Linked DNA regions of Homo sapiens: region 2 is linked to region 1. The links are contacts of gene promoters, found by promoter capture Hi-C in blood cells and fetal thymus (Javierre and others, 2016). All regions are on one chromosome and are shown on one strand. The core of a region is centred on a gene start or on the middle of the fragment in contact, and the rest is flanking DNA. Distances in the headings are between cores, read along the strand shown. Region 1 holds the start of DUSP11 (dual specificity phosphatase 11). Region 2 holds the start of TLX2 (T cell leukemia homeobox 2).

Region 1 (4,932 bases), core at 1,642-4,141:
CCGGGAGGCTGAGGCAGGAGAATGGCGTGAACCCGGGAGGCAGAGCTTGCAGTGAGCCGAGATCACACCACTGCACTCCAGCCTGGGTGACAGAGTGACTCCATCTCAAAAAAAAAATTTAAAAAAAAAAAAAAAAAAAAAAAAGAGATAGGGTCTTGCCGTCTTGCCATGTAGCCCAGGCTGATCTCAAACTCCTGAGCTCAAGCAACCCTCCTGTCTCGGCCTCACAAATAAATATTTCTCACATGTCTACATATATGAAGGATGGCTTTCATTGCTGAATATTCTTTTATGTATGTGGCTTATTTTTGAACTTTATGCTCTGTTCCTTCAATCTGTCTGGCTACTCAGGTGCCAGCAATGTACTTTTTAAAAAATAGACTAGTTTGGCTGGGTGCGGTGGCTCAAGCCTGTAATCCCAGCACTTTGGGAGGCCGAGGCAGGAGGATCACGAGGTCAGGAGATCGAGACCATCCTGGCTAACACGGTGAAACCCCATCTCTACTAAAAACACAAAAAAATTAGCCAGGCGTGGTGGCAGGCGCCGGTAGTTCCAGCTACTCAGGAGGCAGAGGCAGGAGAATGGCGTGAACCCAGGAGGCAGAGCTTGCAGTGAACCAAGATCACACCACTGCACTCCAGCCTGGGCGACAAGCGAGACACCATCTCAAAAAAAAAAAAAAAAAAATAGACTAGTTTTCAGAGCAGTTTTAGGTTCACAGCAAAACTGAGCCAAAAGGACAGATAGTTCCCACATGTACTTTGCCTTCCCCAACCCACCCAGACTCCCCCACTATCCACATTCCATACCAGTGTGGTCCATTTGTTACAAATGAAGAACCAACTCTGACACATCGTTATCACCAAAGTCTAGAGGTTAGGTATGCGTGATTCATTCTATGTTATGCATTGTATGTACATATTATGTTATATATATTTTGCCACAAAAAAAATGAGAGAAAGAACTAAGTTCAAGTTTTGATTCTTCCTTTTCTGAGCCTGTTTGATTATCTACAAAATTATTTATTAGATGTAACCATCTATTCTCTGAGCTTAGTGCAGAATAAGCACTCAGTAAGAGATATTAGTACTACTGCTACTTCATCAGCACAGGATTGTTGTGAAATGTGTTAATATACGTGAAGCCCTTTTATAGGTTTTGATCAATATATAACATGTATCCACCCTTAGAGTATCACACAGAATAGTTTCACTTCCCTAAAAATTCCCTGTGTCTCCAACACCTTCTTTTTGGAGACAGGGTCTTGCTCTGTTGCCCAGGCTGGAGTACAGTGGCATGATCATGGCTCACTGCAGCCTTGACCTCCTGGGTTCAATCGATCCTCCCACTTCAGCCTCCTGAGCAGCTGAGACTACAAGCACACGCCACCGCGCCTGGTTAATTTTTGTATTTTTTGTAGAGACACGGTTTCAGTGTTGCCCAGGCTGGTCTAAAACTCCTGGACTCAAGCGATACACCCACCTTGCCTCCCAAAGTACTGGATTACAAACATGATCCAACAGGCCTGGCCTGAAATGACTCATTTTTAAGCCCAGACATGCAGAGAAGCTGACACAGCAGTTGAAAAAGGAAATCTGATCTATAAGTCACAAATTAAGTAAATTCCCAAAACGTTTCAAGTAGGCTTCTCCTGATACTAATCTGAGCTATGCTGGGGAAGTCTAATAAGAAAGACATGGAATCTAGAAAACAATTATTTGTCTTCACCTTCTCATCTTTTTTATGGCTGTCAAAAGCTTTCCCCTCCTATCCCTCCTATTCCTTTCCTAGTTTAAACAAAAATACAATCTTCAGATTTTCCCCACTGAAATCCTGACCTTGATGATCCGGGGGATATTTCTGATTGTGACCATGGAAGGAAAGGAGTCCCACTGGCATTCAGTGGGTAAGGGTTACAAATTCTAAACAACTTGCCAAATTCAGGACAGTCCTACAAATGTGTCCCACATCCTGAATGGCTTTTGGATGTCCTATTCAAGATTAATATAGATAAAAAGCTGTTCATATTTAGCTTGGCCTCAGAACCTAACTCCATTTCACAAATAAACACAAAGTATTTTTTGTACAATACTAATATATATTGAATTTTCCAGGATAATAATCACCTTATCAACCAAATGAAGATTATACTTTGTTATATTTGGAAATCTATTACAGAAACTCCTACCACTAAAGCAATACAACCCACCTAGATCAGTCTACATTTGTAATTCTTGAATTCATGGCGCAGGCAACTATTACTCTATGTCTTTTAATGTAGTCATGTCCAAACATTTATATATTGAAATAAATATTATTTTATTATAAATTACTTTTATTTTATTTTTTATATTATAGTTAGGGTGTTAATTGGTATTTTTGTTTAAAATATGAAGTAGGTTGTATGTACCTATGAACTTCATTTCAGGATAGTAAAGGGGTCATTACAAAGTATTTGCTATAAAAAGAGAAAATGGAATGTGATAGAGTGGAGAGCAGTGTTCTGCATGGTGAACTCAGATGCCTGAAAGAATACTGAATTAACTTTTGCTTACCTTTTGCAAAGGAACTTTGAAAGCAATGAAACGAGTCCCAGGCATCCGCTGTCCAACTGGGAGATAGTCTTTCCACCTATTAGATATATTTTTTGTTAGCCAAATTGTATGTTAGCCTTGTTTCCTTGCACAAAATAAGACTTTTTGAAAATGGGAATCATAGCCCGCACAACATGTCCTCTCTCCTCTCTGCTTTGCATTTCGCCACTCCACTTATTAAACCCCACCAAGTAACGACCTATACCGTCCTTCTCTCCTGTTTCCCCATCATAAAAACGAACACAAGCCAACACAACAGTACAACTCAAATAAGGCCTATATAAAACCGGAGATACCCAGAACTTCTGTATCCCTGTTAAACTTGGCCCAGTACCAGATACTAAAGTGCCATTAATACAAACATATTCACTGAAATAATTTAAATTCAATTATTTCACTTCACGCTTTTAGTTTTCATACGACTGATGCCATAAAGTTCAATTAGTAGGAAACTTCAAGTTCATATTTTAAGAGAAAACCTGCTAGAAGAGGGACTGTGAACTTCACTTAATAATGCTAGGAACTGGCCGGGCGCGGTGGCTCACGTCTGTTAATCCCGGCAATTTGGGAGGCTGAGGCAGGTGGATCACCTGAGGTCAGGAGTTCGAGACCAGCCTGACCCACATGGTGAAACCCCATCTCTACTAAAAATACAAAAAAAATTAGCCGGGTGTGGTGGCGGGCGCCTGTAATCCCAGCAACTTGGGCGGCTGAGGGAGGAGAATCGCTTGAATCCGGGAGGCGGAGGTTGCAGTGAGCCGAGATTGGACCATTGCACTCCAGCCTGGCGGAGAAGAGCAAAAATCCATCCCAAAAACAAAAACAAAAAAACGGATTGGAAGAAAACAAACAGGAGATTCACTAATTAGAACCCCACTGCAATAAGTCAGGCAAGACCTGTATTAGGGTACTGACAGAAAGTGACAGTCAAAAGATAGTAGATAAAATGAAGAGGATTTATTGAGGTATGAGATGGTGGAGGATGGTCTCAAGGAGTAAAAACAGTTCAATGCACCTACGTGCAAAGTCTCAAAATTAATCATTTGTACGTATAAAGGAGTTATCTTTCAAATGAGGCCTGTTAGGAAGTAACAAAGTATGCTCTTTGTGATTTCTGGAAACAATACAAACCAACTTTCCATGTGAGATCTCAGGGCGCTACTACTGCTGGGTTCCTAACTCAAACCATTACACTTTCCGTGCCAACGTAACAAGGAATTGAGGAGGTTCCATTTTGGGAATTAAGGAGTGTCCCCAACAGTAACAGTCCCACCTTAAAGCAATCCTTCCGTATTTTACCTAAGAGCAATGGCCAGAACCTCCCTTTTACAAGAATATGGAGAAATCACAGGACATCACAGACATCGCCCCTTTCAGCTACAGCGGGTGGCGCAGAGGGTCAAAGCCTCAAAGCAAGCGGCGGACAAGTCAAGCTTGCGATGGCAACGGCGAGAGGCAGAGACCACAAACGATGAAGCCCAGACCCAGAAGCCACGAGCTGGAAAGGCCACGCCAAGGGACCAAGACATACTACCTTTCGGGGATGTGGTTTCCGCCCTTCTTCTTGGCTGAGGAGCGTCCTGAAAAGTCGCGTCTCCGGCCCCAGCCACTGCGGGGATGATGCCACTGGCTCATGTGGGTCCCAAGAAGCCGCCCACCCAATGCCAAGTCGGCCAAAAGCGCCAGTCCGGCGCCCTCAATGCCAGGATAAGACCCTAAACAGGAAAAGACTCGGCAGCCACCTACGCCGCGCTCCAGCGTCTCGCTATTGCGCATGTGCCACCGCCGGTCGTGATGGCGTAGCCACGCTGGCTTACTGAGACTCCTGATCTGTAAACAGGACTTTGGTGGCTACAGCGCCCTCTTTAGCCAGAGGCCAGTAGCACAGGTCAATAAGGGCGTGTATGCACCCTTCAGAATTCAAACAGTGAGGCACAGGGAAGTCCCTCTGCCCGATCCGCCCCACGCCCCGGTTCCTTGTGTGTTCTTCTAGATATTTACCAGCGCTTACATTCACATTTTGCATATTTTGTATACATATTTACTTTCACATATATGTATATCCTCTATTTTTATACAAAAGGAGTAACTGTACATATTCTACAGTATACCTTAAACACTGATTATCCCAGTCAATTTATGCATACATAGATTCTATTTTTAATGGCTATAGGCAATTTACTTGCTTATGAGTAACATAATTAAAAGTACCATAACGTATTTAGCCAGTTCAATATTAATGGACCTTTAGTTGTTTTCAGGTTCTTTTCAAATCTTGTTACAGACAATGCTGCAATGTGAACATCCTTATACATATATACAACTATATCTAAATTC
Region 2 (4,932 bases), core at 1,002-3,501, 740 kb after region 1:
TGCTCCCGGCCTGAAGATTTGGACTAAACAGGTTCATGCTTCCTTGTAGCCCTCTCTACTGCTGAGAAAAGTGCATGGGTTTCTGTAAAGAGACGGGAGGTGATAATGTCTGTCTTCTCCATCAAGATGAAAATACATCTGCTAAATTGGTAGGAGCCCCCACCCTCTTTCAGAACGGGCTGTTAGCAGGGCTGAGGAGGGGCTGGACAAATTGGATAGTAGAGTGGTCAAGGTGGGGGAGGTTGACACTTTTTTTTTTTTTTCAGACAGAGTCTTGCTGTGTTGCCCAGGCTGGAGTGCAGTGGCGCGATCTCGGCTCACTGCAAGCTCCACCTCCCGGGTTCATGCCATTCTCCTGCCTCAGCCTCCCAAGTAGCTGGGACTACAGGCACCCGCCACCACGCCCAGCTAATTTTTGTATTTTTAGTAGAGATGGGTTTCACCGTGTTAGCCAGGATGGTCTCAATCTCCTGACCTCGTGATCCACCCGCCTCGGCCTCCCAAAGTGCTGGTATTACAGGCGTGAGCCACCGCGCCTGGCAGGTTGACACATATTAATGCCCACTATTCCTCCCACTGCCCTCTGTCCCATTTATGGTTCACCTCCTCTAGATATAAGGCTTCAGAGAACACTGAAGGGCTGGTGGACAGAGCTCACCCTTCTTTCTCTTCTTTATCTTTCTGCCCAGATGCCCAAATATCATTCCTGGTTCCCAGGGGAGAAAAGACCCCTTCACCCTGCCCCAGGCGCCAGGCTGCCAGCCCATCTGCTGGGGAGAAAGGAGGGGGCAGAGTCTTTCCCAGGGGATCCTGGAGAATCAGTTTGAAGATCAGTGCTCCCAGGGAGATCCAGCTAGTAGACTTACAAAGCATTTCGGTTCACACGGGAACCAGCAGGATGGAGCTGAACAGCGGGGTGGGCTCGGGACGAGGGTAGAGGGCTGGCACAGCAGGGTAAGGTCCTTTGGCCACCACGTGTCAGAGGTAGGCTGAGCTGCTCGTTGGTGCCCACCCGCCACCGCCACCGCAGGATGGTAGAAGCGCCCCCCTCTCTGAGCCCAGTCTCACCGGCTCAGAGGCGCCAGGGCCCCCCCGGGGGCCGGGGCGGGCCGGGGAAGGTAATGTAATTCCGGCCCAGCTAACCCGATTACCGCGGCCTGCACCGGGCAGGGCGGCGGCGGGGGCGGGTCTAAGGCTCAGGGGCCCGCCCGCGGGGGTCCCATCCCCGGGAAGGACGCAGAGTTCACGCACTCCCGGCTCCTGGATTCATGGCCAGAGGTCACAAGGTCACCAAGCGGCTTAGGTCTTTCCCCACCTCCCTTCTCTGACAGCTCCAGGCCATTTTTTGAGTTTGGGTGGGGTAAAATGTTTATGGGAAACAAGGCGGCCAGGATCCAACCAAGGCCTCAGTGAGGTCCCACGTGTCCCCCGTGGCGAGATTTCGCCCTCCCGCCGTTGAGGAGGAAGAGTGTGAGAACAGACTTCCTAGGCACAGAATGGAGGGGCAGAGTCCTGCATTGAGGACTCCCTGCACTTGGGGTCCGGGGGTAAGTGCCAGCCCCAAGAACCCGCCGGCCTGATTTGGCCCGGGTTGAGCCATGGTCCGTTTTACACGGATTTTGGAAAATCGAAATTCTAGGAAACACAGGACACCAATTACCGGTGCGCATGAACAGGGCTGGGGGGACCTACAGGAGAGGCCAGAAGGCGCACCACGATCGCCAGCCCAAAGCGGCCGTTCCCCGCCCTTAGCCCCTGCCGTCCCCTTCCCACACCTGTTCTCTTCCTGGGCCTGCAGCTCACCGGGCGCCGTTCCCCAGCCGCTTCTTACGCAGCCGGGAAACCACAACGAGATTTGGTCTTCGAGAGCATTTAGGCGGGGACCACAACGAATCCGGGAGTTGGCCAGAAGGATCCATCGAGAGGCGAAGAGTGGGGGCTGGGGGAGGAGGCACCTGCGGAGGAAGCCGGTGAGGCGGAGGCAGCCCAAAGGCGGAGGCCGCCCAAAGGCGGAGGCCAGCAAGGATGGAGGCGCGGTGAGCATCTCCGCTGACTCAGCGGCCCATGCTCGGGCCCCTCCCGCGCTGAGCCTGGCTCCTAACACCCTGGCCCCCTGTCCCCCTCCCCGCACATCTCCGCCAGCCAGCCTTCCCCCTGCGCTTGGCGCAAACAGGCGTCCCTTCCCCTTTAACTGCTGGGCCCCGCCCCTGCCCTACCCCCAGCCCCCACTACCCACCCGGGCCGATCCGTCAGTCACTGCCCCAGCCGGAGCTGGCCAACCCTCTCCACCCGGGACTTGGGCAGCGGCGCCGGCAGCCCAGCGTCTATTTGCGCTTAAGAGCCAGCAAGGAAGCTCCAGGGGCCCCAGCTGGCCGTGCTCCCCCGGGATGCAAGTCCCTGCGCTGACGCCCGGCAGCGGCTGGCACGGGCGCGGCTGCTCCGGGTGCACAGGGATGCTGCTGTTTCGGGGACCCCGGCGCCCTGCCTTGGCCAGCCCCGCGGGCCCCTGAGGCCACTCTCCGGAGCGCGCCGCCGCTGGGCTTCTGGCGCTGCCTGAGGCATCCTCCCCAACCACCGAACCTCCGGCGGTTCTCCTCGGCCCAGACCGATGGAGCCGGGGATGCTGGGTCCACACAACCTCCCACACCACGAGCCAATCAGCTTCGGCATCGATCAGATCCTGAGCGGCCCCGAAACCCCAGGGGGCGGTCTAGGCCTGGGTCGCGGGGGCCAGGGTCATGGGGAGAATGGGGCGTTCTCGGGTGGATACCACGGAGCCTCGGGCTACGGTCCCGCCGGCTCACTTGCCCCGCTGCCCGGCAGCTCCGGAGTGGGCCCAGGCGGCGTGATCCGCGTCCCTGCGCACCGCCCGCTGCCTGTGCCGCCGCCCGCTGGGGGGGCGCCTGCAGTGCCTGGGCCCTCGGGTTTGGGCGGCGCCGGAGGCCTAGCGGGACTCACCTTCCCCTGGATGGACAGCGGCCGCCGCTTTGCCAAGGACCGGCTCACGGGTGAGGTTGTCTGACCCCTCCAGCGTCACGCCCGACTCTGACCCCGTCTCCTCATTTCTTAGCTTTCTGCTCCAACTCAAGGACCCCTTTCACACCTCCCACTAGATCCTCCCAGGGGATCCTCCCCCAACTCAAATCTCTGGGTCCTGCCTCCGAGAGGTGATGGGGAGGGAGCTGCCGTCGGTGCCCGCGCCCTCCTCTGTAGTCCCACTGTCCACGCGTGGGGAGGGGAGGGTGAAGTTACAGGGGACGTCTCCCTCGCATCCCAGGGGAAGGGCCTTTCTTGGCTATAGGGCTCGGCTGATGCTTAGGGCCCGGGTAAGGACAGGGCGCGGGAGTTCTGCGGCCTGGACAGCCGCGCGGCCTTCTCAGTGGCACCTCGGGCCACCCTGCAAATCCTGCCCTGGTCTTTCTTCCTCCCGGTAGCTGCGCTCTCGCCCTTCTCTGGGACGCGCCGCATAGGCCACCCCTACCAAAACCGGACCCCTCCGAAGCGGAAGAAGCCGCGCACGTCCTTCTCCCGCTCACAGGTGCTGGAGTTGGAGCGGCGCTTCCTGCGCCAGAAGTACCTGGCCTCTGCGGAGAGGGCGGCGCTGGCCAAGGCCTTGCGCATGACCGACGCACAGGTCAAAACGTGGTTCCAGAACCGACGCACCAAGTGGCGGTGAGGCGCGGCGCGGGCGAGGGCGGACTGGGGTTCCCGAGCAGGGCCTGGTGAGAAGCGACGCGGCGGGCGCCCCGCTGACCCCGCGTCTCCCTCCCTTAGGCGCCAGACGGCGGAGGAGCGCGAGGCCGAGCGGCACCGCGCGGGCCGGCTGCTCCTGCATCTGCAGCAGGACGCGTTGCCACGGCCGCTGCGGCCGCCGCTGCCCCCGGACCCTCTCTGCCTGCACAACTCGTCGCTCTTCGCGCTGCAGAACCTGCAGCCCTGGGCCGAGGACAACAAAGTGGCTTCAGTGTCCGGGCTCGCCTCGGTGGTGTGAGCGACGCCCGTCCGATCGGCGTGGAGCGCCGGGCCCGGAGCGGTGGAGCGCGCGGCTGCCTGCGTCCATGGTCTAGTGGCAGCCGGGCGCGTGAGGAGCGGCAGGCCTTGAGGCTGTCGTCGAGGGCTCCTCCACCACCGGCCGGCTCCCAAGCCAGCGTTGCGCAGATGCACGGCCAGCTCAGAGGCGGCCTTTCCCGCCATTTTTCACTTCACTGCCGTTACGCCCTCGCTGGAACCTGAGGCGCCGAGAGGGCGGGACCTGCAGGACAGTAGCCAATGAGGTGCGGGGAGGGGGCCGGGCTGGCCAATGGGAGCTGCTTTCCTGAGGGACTCGAAATTCTCCGGCGGGTGGTCGGGAGCTGGGGCTCTGAGGGGCTCTAGCGGCGTTGCGCGCGGTGCCGGCTGGGTCTGTACCAAAGGTGTGAAGGAAAGAAGACACCGACCACGGCGAAGCAATAGAGGGGGTGCTGGAGCGCGAGAGGCTGGCTGATTGTGACCGAAACCAGAGGGTTGTCCACCCCGGGCATCTCATCCCTCAACTGTAAAATAATCGCTAAGGATTCCTTCCTGACTTTGAGCCTCACGTTGTCATGTGTGTTCAGCCTGCTGGCCACATCCTCCGGCAACACGCCCGGGCAGGAGGCGAGTCGGATACTTACACACCCAACGAAAGAGAAAATCTGGCTCCGGTGTCACATAGGGACAGAGAAGGGAGAGGAGGAAACAGTGGACAAAGTTAATGGGCCCAGTGGAGTTAGGGTGAAGAGAATTTGGAAAATAATTTGGAAGTGACAAGCTTAAGAAGAATCAAAGGTAATTCCAAGACTGGAAATGTGCAGCATCAGGAAATCAATGGTGCTGTGGATGATGAAAGGGAAATTGGGAAGACTGGAGCAAAATTAACTGTATAGGCAAAACTAAATGTTATACCTAGAGAGA

The links. The method cuts DNA at HindIII sites, captures the fragments that hold promoters and counts their contacts. A CHiCAGO score of 5 or more calls a contact.
Region 2: a contact is called between the fragment with the promoter of TLX2 here and a fragment that was not itself captured in region 1, in 4 of 17 cell types (naive CD8 T cells, naive CD4 T cells, non-activated CD4 T cells and 1 more). The highest score is 8.9, in naive CD8 T cells.

The regions. Positions count from the first base shown.
Region 1 is chr2:73,775,745-73,780,676 of GRCh38, forward strand. It overlaps DUSP11 (dual specificity phosphatase 11), which reads right to left and starts at 4,359. Exons shown (of 9, transcript NM_003584.3): 1 at 4,130-4,359; 2 at 2,557-2,632. The coding sequence starts at 4,230. RefSeq lists enhancers at 3,851-4,000, 4,131-4,180, 4,261-4,330. The HindIII fragment of the contact is 2,270 bases long and covers 1,757-4,026 here.
Region 2 is chr2:74,512,199-74,517,130 of GRCh38, forward strand. TLX2 (T cell leukemia homeobox 2) reads left to right here and starts at 2,252. Exons shown (of 3, transcript NM_016170.5): 1 at 2,252-3,008; 2 at 3,435-3,672; 3 at 3,775-4,932. The coding sequence starts at 2,609. The coding sequence ends at 3,991. RefSeq lists enhancers at 570-1,238, 3,488-3,989, 3,990-4,489 and silencers at 1,113-1,172, 2,210-2,309, 2,890-2,959. The HindIII fragment of the contact is 6,557 bases long and covers 1-4,787 here.